Linked DNA regions of Homo sapiens: regions 2, 3 and 4 are each linked to region 1. The links are contacts of gene promoters, found by promoter capture Hi-C in blood cells and fetal thymus (Javierre and others, 2016). All regions are on one chromosome and are shown on one strand. Each heading gives the region's core, a stretch centred on a gene start or on the middle of the fragment in contact. The rest is flanking DNA. Distances are from core to core; before and after follow the strand shown.

Evidence for each region. The method cuts DNA at HindIII sites, captures the fragments that hold promoters and counts their contacts. A CHiCAGO score of 5 or more calls a contact.
Region 2: a contact is called between a fragment that was not itself captured here and the fragment with the promoter of GLRB in region 1, in 1 of 17 cell types (M0 macrophages). The highest score is 5.6, in M0 macrophages.
Region 3: a contact is called between a fragment that was not itself captured here and the fragment with the promoter of GLRB in region 1, in 1 of 17 cell types (M2 macrophages). The highest score is 6.0, in M2 macrophages.
Region 4: a fragment that was not itself captured here is called in contact with the fragment with the promoter of GLRB in region 1 in 1 of 17 cell types (monocytes); the score reaches 5.3 in monocytes.

The regions. Positions count from the first base shown.
Region 1 is chr4:157,074,729-157,077,544 of GRCh38, forward strand. GLRB (glycine receptor beta) reads left to right here and starts at 1,422. Exons shown (of 10, transcript NM_000824.5): 1 at 1,422-1,569. The HindIII fragment of the contact is 1,648 bases long and covers 974-2,621 here.
Region 2 is chr4:156,470,119-156,472,818 of GRCh38, forward strand. No RefSeq gene overlaps it. Among named protein-coding and RNA genes, the nearest start is that of LINC02272, 170 kb to the right of the region's middle. The HindIII fragment of the contact is 4,295 bases long and covers 1-2,700 here.
Region 3 is chr4:156,451,694-156,454,502 of GRCh38, forward strand. No RefSeq gene overlaps it. Among named protein-coding and RNA genes, the nearest start is that of LINC02272, 190 kb to the right of the region's middle. The HindIII fragment of the contact is 3,147 bases long and covers 1-2,809 here.
Region 4 is chr4:156,489,882-156,492,581 of GRCh38, forward strand. No RefSeq gene overlaps it. Among named protein-coding and RNA genes, the nearest start is that of LINC02272, 150 kb to the right of the region's middle. The HindIII fragment of the contact is 7,171 bases long and covers 1-2,700 here.

The DNA of each region.
Region 1 (2,816 bases), core at 172-2,671:
ATAATGATCATTTTGTAATGTAAATAAGGTAATGATCACTTATTAATGATCACTACTCTTAGGCAGCAGAATATCTCATGAAGCTTATGGAACACGGTTATATGCAGGAAATATTCCTTCCCTCCATATGCTGCGGGTGGAAAAATTTATTAGTGGATACATCTGTGGGTCCACAATACAATGCTAAGTGATGCTCACTTGAGACAATGCTTTTTTAATAAAAAAAATCCATCAGGACCTGGTGCAGTGGGGTGGGGTGGCTCAAGCCTGTAAGCCCCCCAGCTTGGGAGGCTAAGGCAGGCGGATGGCTTCAGGCCAGAGTTGGAGACCATCCTGGACAACAAAGCCAGAGATGCTGTCTCTTAAAAAATAATAATAATAATTAGTGGAGCGCAATGGCCTGTCTGTTGTTCCAGCTACTCTACTAGGGAGACCGAGACAAGAGGATCTCTTGATTGCCCAGAAGTTCAAGACTGCGGTGAGCGATGACTGTGCCTCTGCACTCCAGCCTGGGCAACAAAGTGAGCTCCTGTTGCTTAAAAAATAACAATTAAAAAAAATCAATCAGGCATACATTCAAGAGGTAATAGGATAGCCTTATCTGTTATCTAAGGGCTGCATATCCAAGTAAGGGCTACTTCTTCACAAGGATGAGGACAACAGTATTTTGCTCTTATAAGGCAGAGACCCTGTCTGGTTCAGATATGCAAAAATCACTAATTTTGAATCTCTGGTAAATTTCTTTCAAGATCTGTAACTCTAAGTAAATCTCTTAATATAACTGAGTTTCAGATTCTTCATCTACAGAAGGGGATGACAAAACTTGCCCAGGAATGTGGTGAGGGCCACATGAGATAAGGCGAGTGAAAGGTGTTTTGCAACTGTCAAGTTCTGTACACATGTTAATTATGTAACAGATGTTAAACATAGTATTACCTGTATGACTATATTGTCAGTAATTTTGACCAATTTAAGCTTGCTCAGAAAGTTCAGGCTTTTAGAAATTGGAAGACCCGGAGATTAAGCTGGATGTCTGGGTTCCAGGCAAATGGTGAAATGACAGAAAATGTGTTTTGTTCGCTTTGACCCAAGAAGGTCATTTGTTGCTCTGTTGTTTGTTGCTAGTGGTCAAAAGCTGACCCCAAGCAATCCCAGCTCCTTGAAAGGTTTTTTCTTTTTGTACCGACACTATCATTCCCGCCCTTCGTCCCCAACTCCTTTAGTCCCCTAAGGAGTGAGGGGGGTACACATTTCTGCTCGGTAACCCCTCCAATGCCTGAAGGGGACGATGCCGTGACGTTGCTCTGTCGGGACACCTCTTCCCTCCCCCGCCCGCGGTCGCCAGGTTCCCCCGCGGCCCGCGCTGTCCCCGCTGCGGCCCCGACCGCGGCGCGCCACGGCGCAGGCTCCGCGGCCCGAGCAGGCGCGTCAGCCGAGCTCGGCGGTGGCGCGGGCGGCTGGGACGCAGCTGCCCCCGCTCGGCGCCCGCTGCACCCTTAGCAGCCACTGCCACCTGGGCCCGGAGCCTCCACGATCTCGCCCGGCGATTGTGGGCAGGGGCGCCTCCGGGTAAGTGCCAGGAGCTCCACTTAGGAGGAGGGGACGCGGGTTGGGGCGGCGACGGTGGTCTGAGGACGGGAATAGACGCCTTTGCGGAAACAGCGGGTCAAGCCCGGGGCGGCGGAGCGCGAGGAGCACTGCGGCGTGCCCGGGAGGACGCGCGCTGCCCTGCGCGGGAGAGGGGCGCGGGGCGCCTGGCAGCGGCAGCCGGGTCCCCGCTGCGGTGGCGCCCGCGGAGACGCTCCGGGTGGAGAGATGCAGAGGGCCGGGGTAATTAGGAAACGCAAGGTTGGCCAGGAGGGCTCCTTGCGTTGTTTTGTTTATGAGGATCCTCCAGTCAATGCAGCTGTCCCCCTTGAAAGATTGGGGGTGAGGACAGAGCAGAGTGGTGAATTTCTCTGTTTTTCGAAGCGTTAGGGGGGCTCGGCCCTCCTTTTTGCGGGGGCAAGGATGTGAAAGTGGGAGAAGTACCTGCTGCTGTGGGCAAGGTGTCTGGAAGCAGGTGCCGCTGTCGGATGGGGGAAGGGAGCGTCCAATGTTGTGAAGTTGCCAGAGGAGAACCTTGTGTTGTTGCTGTTGGTCTGATGAGCCCCCTCTGTTGTCTTCAATTTAAAGTACCCAGGGAGAAGCCCCTCTGGCTTGCCTGGAGTGTGTGTAAAAGATAAATATGGGGGGAAGAATCCTGGGGGGGGGGGGGGAAGATGAAAAACATGACATAAGGAGAAGCAAATTTCTGAGGGTGAGATGGGAATTAAGTTAGCGTTGAAGAATATGACAGGTCTTTTACTCTGCGGAAAACAATGAAAGAGAAACAATTTATGGTTTGGAAATGAAGGTTGCAGAAGAGTTTGAACTTCTCTAGTGTAGGTAGAGGCTTAATTATTTTTTATTTATCAGAATCTCTGGCAAGAATATGGTTCTGATTTGAGCATGAAAATGTTATTAAAATATGGCTAGGACGATAATTTGAAAAAAATGTAACAACACTTGTTTTATTTCTTGTTGTAGAATTTCTGAAGTAATCTTTTTGATGACAAATGTTAGTAGCAAATAAGTAAGAAAGCTTTAAAGCTAACTTAAGAGGCACCTTTTTGGGGCAAAAAGGTAGCTTGCCAATGTAATGTGTTTAAATAAAAAAAGCAATGAATTTTGAATGTGGAACTCTTTGATATTAACTTTTTCTTTTATCTGTCTTTTTTAATACTTAGAATTTCTTTTTCTTTAAAATACATTATTTTTGAAAAAATATACATAAG
Region 2 (2,700 bases), core at 63-2,562, 600 kb before region 1:
AATATGGTGATATCTAAAGTAGGAAAAATCTTAGAAGCAGAAAGTTGAATGGTTGTTGCCAGAGGCAGAGAGGAAGTATAAAAGCAGAGTTGTTCAATGGGTATAGTGTTTCAGTCATGCAAGATGAAAAGTTCCAGAGAGCTATTGCACAAAATTGTTCATATGGTTAACACTACTGTATTGTACACTTAAAAATAGTTAAGATAGTAAATTGTATGTTTTTACCACCATAGAAAAAAGCTCTGAACTTGCCTTTTGGAATAAAAATGTGAAATTCTATATGAAATGCCTTTACTATAGTAAGAAACACAAAATAACTCCTCTGAATTATTTTACCTCTGCCTGCTTTTCAAGTATACAGTATTTCCTGAGATATTATTGAAGGTCAATGGGAAAGAATAATACAGAGAAAAATAAAGTTTGTCTTGCTTCAAAACTGTGGAGTGAAGATTAATTAGAAAAAAAATCAAAGGGTCATAGAAGAAATACATATGTTATGGAATATTTTTTCAGTTCTCTGGAGCCCAGCTAAAAATTTATTTCTTCTAGGACATGCCAGGAGAACAAAAAGAAAATAATTGAAATGGAAACAATCAAATAGATCCTATAGGGACTGAGATTTATATTTAATGATGTTAACTGTTGGTCTCTTTCTTATCTAAAAGCATTGTAGGGAGGTCAAAGGATTTTGCAGCTGATCAAGGAAAAAGAGATGACCACAAGATAGAACTAGCCCTCAAAGACCTTTATTTGGGTCAGACATTTACAGGTTTGCATGTGGGGAAAGTCCCTCATAGAATGAGAGGGTCCAGAGGTCCCCATTCAGAAGCAGAAGAAGGAAGGTCCTCCTGGGGCAGATGGGGCATGGGCAATGGGGATTCATGTGCAAATGATGTCACTCAGCAGCAAGATGGGGAATCTCTGGATCAGGGATCTCCAAAGGGCAGCAGCAGCCTGGGGTCATTCATAGCTCTGGGGTTAATCATCTTGTCTATGGCCAGCAGACAATGAGAGCAGTTTTGTGGGGTCCACAAAGCATTGGGCTCTAAATGGCTAAAATTCTATCTATCGGGCTACATTTAAAGCAACTGGATACATAAAAATTTGAATTTGGCACCCATGATGTTTTGAGCAAATGGGTTCCAGCTTGCTATGAAGAAGTAAACAATTTAGGGCAACATAAAAGGGGGGAATCCTTACTCCATTTATGTAACAAATATGTCACAAAGCCTACTTGCTTAACAATAGAGAACAGGAATAGGCATCTATTTAAGGAATTTGGCGTCTTAGGAAAATAATTATTTCTCGTGTGTGTGTGTGTGTGTGTGTGTGTGTGTGTGTGTGTTTTGTTTTTTGAGACGGGGTCTTACTCTGCTGCCCAGGATGGAGTGCAGTGATGAAATCACAGCTCACTGCAGCCTCAACTTCCCAGGCTCAAGCAATTCTCCCACCTCAGCCTCCCAAGTAGCTGAGACTACTGGCACACATGTCCCTACACCCAGCTAATTTTTTTTTTTTTTTTTTGTAGAGATGAGGACTCACTGTGTGCCCCCTAGGCTCTTCTTGAACTCCTAAGTTCAAGCATTCCTCCTGGCTCAACCTCCCAAAGTGCTGAGATTACAGGGGTGAGCCACCACACCAACCTCTCCCAAGTGTTTTTAAATGAAGCAATGTTATTTTCAAAGGAAGCAAATGTGTTATTTAGTTGTCTTTGGAAAACTCAAATATATTTTTTGTGACATAAAAAATGTTTCGTGCTTATGAAGATGTGTCTAGTTTATCTTCATGGTCTCTAAGTTTGTTTCATTTGCTTGATTGTACTGAAGTAAAATATTTCTTGTCATTTTGAGACTTTTGAAAAATGTTTAGAAGACAGATATGGAGACTGTGGAAATGGGTCAACTTACTATTAATTTTGAAAATTTGGTTTTAACTGGAAAAACTATTCTTCAATTACAACAGTCTTTAATGGTTCTTTAATAAGACTATTTGTAAATAAAATTACTTTGTCATGAAATCAAAACATTTCTAGTTTTTCATGTGTAATTTAATACATATGCAAATACATTCTTAAAGACCAACTCAATAAACTTTAAAATCTTTTTTTAATGTAATGGGATAATTTTCATTAAGTAATGTATAACATTTATCACTTATTTTATTTTTTCTGTTTTCTGAATGCAGCCCAAGTTGATTAATTTCAAACTATAAAAACGTATTTGTTTGTGAATACTTAAGACATTTATCATATGATGCCATTTAAGAACCATATTAAAATATCATAATGTCTTTTTAGTAATAATGATATCATAATATCTGGGCTATGCATCAGAATGCAGAGGAAGCCATTAGGTTATATCCTGTAACCAATAATATTATGGTTTCAAAAATACGGGAAAAGGAACCCTATTGCCTTTACATAAGCACAGACATAGATTGGAAACAAATAAGAGGAAGAATTTCAAGTTTAAATTTAAGAGAATCTCATATGTAGATAAACTAGACTGGATGATCCTATCTGATGATATTCCTTGGGTCCTTCTAGATTCATGTTTTGCACATCCTGTCATTTCTAATAAGTATTTAGAGCACTGAATCACAGAGACAGCTGAAATTAGAGAATGCTGAAACCTTAAGCAAAAGTGGTTAACCCCAATCAAGTCTCAGTAATTAATATCAGTAGTTGGCAGCTGAGCCTGG
Region 3 (2,809 bases), core at 286-2,785, 620 kb before region 1:
ATTCAATCACTTCCAACTAAGAACTGACATTATGTTGTACTACCTTCCTATCAGTACATTCAGACTGTTGTAACAAAATACCATCAACCAGGTAGCTTATAAACTACAGAAATTTATTTCCCACAGTTCTGGAAGCTGGCAAATCCTAGATCAAGGTGCCTGAAGATTAGATGTCTAGTGAGGACCTGCTTTCTTGTTCATAAACAGCTGTTTTGTTTTTGTTTTTTACCTGTGTCTTTACACGGCTGGAGAGCCATATTTCTCTGTGATACCTTTTATAAGGGTACTAACCCCATTTATAAGGGCTCTGCCCTCATAATTTAATCACCTCCAAGGAGCTCACCTGCATATACAATCACATTGGGTGTAAGAATTTAACTTAGGAATTTGGGGAGGGAGGACGGACACAAATAGCCCATCTATAGTACTTCCCATTGTACCTAGATTATATCTACACAGATCTCATCTTATTTGACTCTTCTTCAATTCTCCTCTTTTAGCCAAAGCACAGTTTCTTAAAACCTGGCTGCCACCTCAGTGGCCCTGCACATTCTCTCCTCTCTGCACAGATAGCTCTGCACCCTAATTTTCATATGAAGGGTCCCTCTCACCACTCAGGCTTCAACTCAACTGTCACCTTCTCTTTTGGGGTAGAGTACTATGGCATGATCATGTCTCACTGCAACCTTGAACTCCTGGGCTCAAGTGATCCTCTTGCTTCAGCCTCCAGAGTAGCTGGGACCACAGGTGCACACCACTATGCCTGAATAATTTTAAAAATTTTGGTGATATGGGATCGAGACCATCCTGGCTAACATGATGAAACCCCGTCTCTACTAAACAATACAAAAAATTAGTCGGGCGTGGTGGTGGGTGCCTGTAGTCCCAGCTACTCGGGAGGCTGAGGCAGGAGAATGGTGTGAATCCAGGAGGCGGAGCTTGCAGTGATCCAAGATTGCGCTACTGCACTCCAGGCTGGGTGACAGAGCGAGACTCCATCTCAAAAAAAAAAAAAAAAAAATTTGGTGATATGGGGTCTCACTATGTTGCCCATGCTGGTCTTGAATTCATGGGCTCAAGTAATGTTCTGGCTTTGACCTCCCAAAGTGCTGGGATTACAGGTGTGACCCATGGCACCTAGAAAACTGTCACCTTTTAAACATACCTCCATTGGTCTTCTTTTCAACATTGCATTTCTTATTTCCAAGTAACTTTCTATTATTTTACCCTGGCCTGTTTTCTTCACTGCATGCCTTAGTGTCTAATATCCTCTTTCTTTATTTCCTTATTTCTTTTGTTTGCATGTTTTTTTTTTTTTGTTTTTTTTTTTTTTTTGAGACAGAGTCTCGCTTTGTCACCCAGGCTGGAGTGTAGTGGCGCGATCTCGGCTCACTGCAAGCTCCGCCTTCCCAGGTTCACACCATTCTCTTGCCTCAGCCTCCCGAGTAGCTGGGACTACAGGCGCCCACCACCACGCCCGGCTAATTTTTTGTATTTTTAGTAGAGATGAGGTTTCACTGTGTTAGCCAGGATGGTCTCGATCTCTTGACCTCGTGATCCGCCCGTCTCGGCCTCCCAAAGTGCTGGGATTACAGGCATGAGCCACCGCGCCCAGCCCGCATGTTTGTTTTTTATCGCTTGACTCTACCAGAAAATGTAGCTTTATGAGGTCAAGAGTCTAATTTTTCTTGTTCAGTTATATCTCTCCAGTGCCAGGAATGAATGAAAGGAAATAAATAGCAAACAAAACAAAATATTAGGGCTTCATATTACTTTGTTTGTCTTTAAAATATTTTGCGCATTTATGGCTTGTCAATTTGGGAAGTTTCTGCTTCTCATTCATTAGTTCATTCATTCCTTCAGTGTGTGTTTATTGAATACCTATGATATAGTTTAGATCTTTGTCCCTACCTAAATTTCATATAAAATTTTAATCCCCTATGTTGAAGGTGGGCCCTAGTGGGAGGTAACTGAATCATGGAAGTGGTTTCTAATGGCTTAGCACCATCCCCCTAGTGCTGTCTTATGAGTAAGTTCTCACGAGATCTGGTTGTTTGAAAGTGTTTAGCACTTTCCCCTTCGCTCTCTCTCCTGCCAGCAATGTGAAGATGTGCTTGCTTTCCCCTTGCTTCTGCCATGATTGTAAGTTTCCTGAGGCCTCCCCAGCCATGTCTCCTTTACAGCCTACAGAATTGTGAGTCAATTAAACTTCTTTTCTTCATAAATCACCCAGCCTTATGTAGTTCTTTATAGCAGTGTGAGAATGAATTATACAACCTACTTATTTGCCAAACCACTGTTGAGGTCTAAGAGTTCAAAGACAATTAAAACTGTTCCTTCACTCAATGAACTAATAATGTAGACCAACCTAAAAATACTAGATGGTCCAATAAAGCTCTGTATAAGTGGTTTCATAACCAATATTTAGATCAGTTATTCAATTAAATAGGTAGAGAAAATATTTTGTAAGCCACTTAGTAGATACTGTCAGCCTCATAAAACTATGGAGGAAAATCAACAGAAATTAAGGATTTTCAAAAATTTTTCTCAAATGTTTTTGTAAACATGCATGCATACACACATGCATGGGAAGATATTTGCTACTCTCCTTAGAGGAATTCCTAGGTGCAATATGTGATTGGTATTATTTTTATATAGTGTTCAGTAATGTACTTAAAATAAAAAAAATAGACTGAGTGTAGTAGGTATTACCCATAATCTCACCACTTTGGGAGGCCAAGGCAGGAGGATTGCATATGGCCAAGAGTTCAAGACCAGCCTAAATAACATAGCAAGATCCCATCCCTAC
Region 4 (2,700 bases), core at 148-2,647, 580 kb before region 1:
ATGATAAATCCTGCGCTGCCTGAGGCAACAGTGATGGCCTCCCCTGAGGCAGGTGCCTGGCAAGATAATGTTGATTCTCCTCAGAAGCCACCCACAACAACCCTGTTTGCTTCTAGACCTATAACTGGACTAAAGTCCCAGCGGGCCCCTAAAGGTGAGGTTAAGAGTGTGACCTAAGAGGAGGAAAGGAATTGCTTGAGCTTTCTAAGTTATATAAACAGAAATCTGGAGAAAAGGCATGGGAATAGATATTAAGGGTGTGGGATGATGGTGGAAGGAACATAGAGTTGGATCAGGCTGAATTTATTGATTTTTACCCACTAAGTAGGGATACTGCATTTAATGTTGCACCTCAGGGAGTTAAAAAAGGTTTTAATAGTTTATGTGCTTGGTTAGCTGAAATATGGATTAAAAGATGACCTACTGAGTGGGATAGAAATGCCTGATCTCCCTTGGTTTAATGTAGAGGAAGGGATCAAAATGCTTAGGGAGATTGGGATGGTGGAGTGGATTAGTCACTTTAGATCTATTCACCCCATCTGGGAAGATACAGAAGATATACCTTTTTCCAATGTCTTGTGAAATAGATTTGTGAGGGCAGCACCTGCATCTTTGAAGAGCCCTGTAATTGGTCTTCTCTGTATGTCAGATCTAACAGTGGGAATTGCAGTCACTCAACTACAAAATTTAAATACAATGGAAATAATTGGATCCCAAGGTGGCAGGGGCCAAGTGGTGGCACTCAACCATCACAGGCAAGGTGAGCATAGCTACCATACTGGACAGCAGAAGCAAAGCAGCAATCAGAATAGTCTGACTGGTGTGGAGCTCCGGCATTGGCTAATTAGTCACGGTGCTCCTAGATGTGAAATTGATAGGAAGCCTACTGCATTCCTACTTAATTTATATAAGCAGAAAACTTCTAGATCAAATAGACAAAAGACTCATTTGAATTATAAAAGCAGAGAATCACAGCCCCTCAGTCAATTTCCAGATTTAAGCCAGTTTATAGACCCAGCACCCCTTGAATGAATGGGAGGCTGGGTCCCCTTGAGGAAGCACCCTACTACACTACTGACAATTTATGCTGTTAACCTTTCTCCCATCCTTCCCCAAGGAGACCTCTGGCCTTTTACCAAGGTAACTGTGCATTGGGGAAAGGGAAATAATCAGATGCTTCGGGGACTACTTGACACTGGCTCTGAGTTAATGTGGATTCCAGGGGACCTAAAACGTCATTATGGTCCTCCAGTTAAAGTAGGGGCTTATGGAGGTCAGATAATTAATGGAGTTTTAGCTCAAGTCCAACTTACAGTGGGTCCATTGGGTCCCCAGACTCATCCTGTGGTCATTTCTCCAGTGCCAGAATGCATAATTGGCATAGATATACTTAGCAGCTGGCAGAACCCCCACATTGGCATCCTGACTGGTAGGATGAGGATTATTATGGTGGGAAAGGCCAAATGGAAGCCATTAGAGGTGCCTCTACCTAGAAAAATGTAAGTCAAAAACAATATCACAACCCTGTAGGTATTGCGGAGATAAGTACCACCATCAAGGACTTGAAAGACGCAGGGGTGGTGATTCCACACCACACCTGTGTTCAACTCTCCCATTTGGCCTGTGCAGAAGACAGATGGATCTTGGAAAATGACAGTGGATTATCGTAAGTTTAACCAAGTGGTGACTCCAATTGTAGCTGCTGTACCAGATGTGGTTTCATTGCTTGAGCAAATTAACACATCTCCTGGTACCTGGTATGCAGTCACTGACTTGGCAAATGCCTTTTCCTCCATTCCTTATGTGACATAAGATTTATTGACTTCACATCAGCATTTAAGTATCGTTAACTTTATGTAATAGTATTTGGGTTGGGGATTGGTGCATTTCTGGTTGTAGGAAGGATAGTTGTATTATGTTAGGTGTAATTATAAACCTTATTATTGTCTTTATTTGAAGATTATGTATGATCTCAGGAAATGTATATGGATTCAAGTTGATGAAAGGTGGACTCATGATGGTTAATACTGAGTGTCAACTTGATTGAACTGAAGAATGCAAAGTATTGATCCTGGGTGTGTCTGTGAGGGTGTTGCCAAAGAAGATTAACATTTGAGTCAGTTGACTGGGAAAGCCAGACCCACCCTTAATCTGGATGGTTACCATCTAATCAGCTACCAGTGAATATAAAGCGGGCATAAAAACATGAAGTGACGAGATGGGCCTAGCCTCCCAGCCTACATCTTTCTCTCATGCTGGATGCTTCCTGCTCTCGAACAGCAGACTGCAAGTTCTTCAGTTTTGGGACCCAGACTGGCTCTCCTTGCTCCTCAGCTTGCACACAGCCTATTGTGGGACCTTGTGATCATGTGAGTTAATACTTAGTAAACTATTAAGTTTCTTACTTCTGTCCCTCTAGATAATCCTAATACACAGTGGTTTACCTTTTCTTGAGTTACACTATTCCAAATTCTTTACTTTTCTCTCTACTATTAATGTGCTGGATCTTTTATTTTTATTTCAATTTTTTTTTTGTTTTGTTTTTGGAAATGAAGGAGCTTCATTCAAAAGAGTAAATAAATCATTTTAAAAATCCATTATTAGAATCTGTTACTGTGTGATAGGAATTGAAATCAAATTGTATAGCTTAGTTATTAAGATATCTCACTAACCAAATTTCATATTTTAATTTTCTTTATT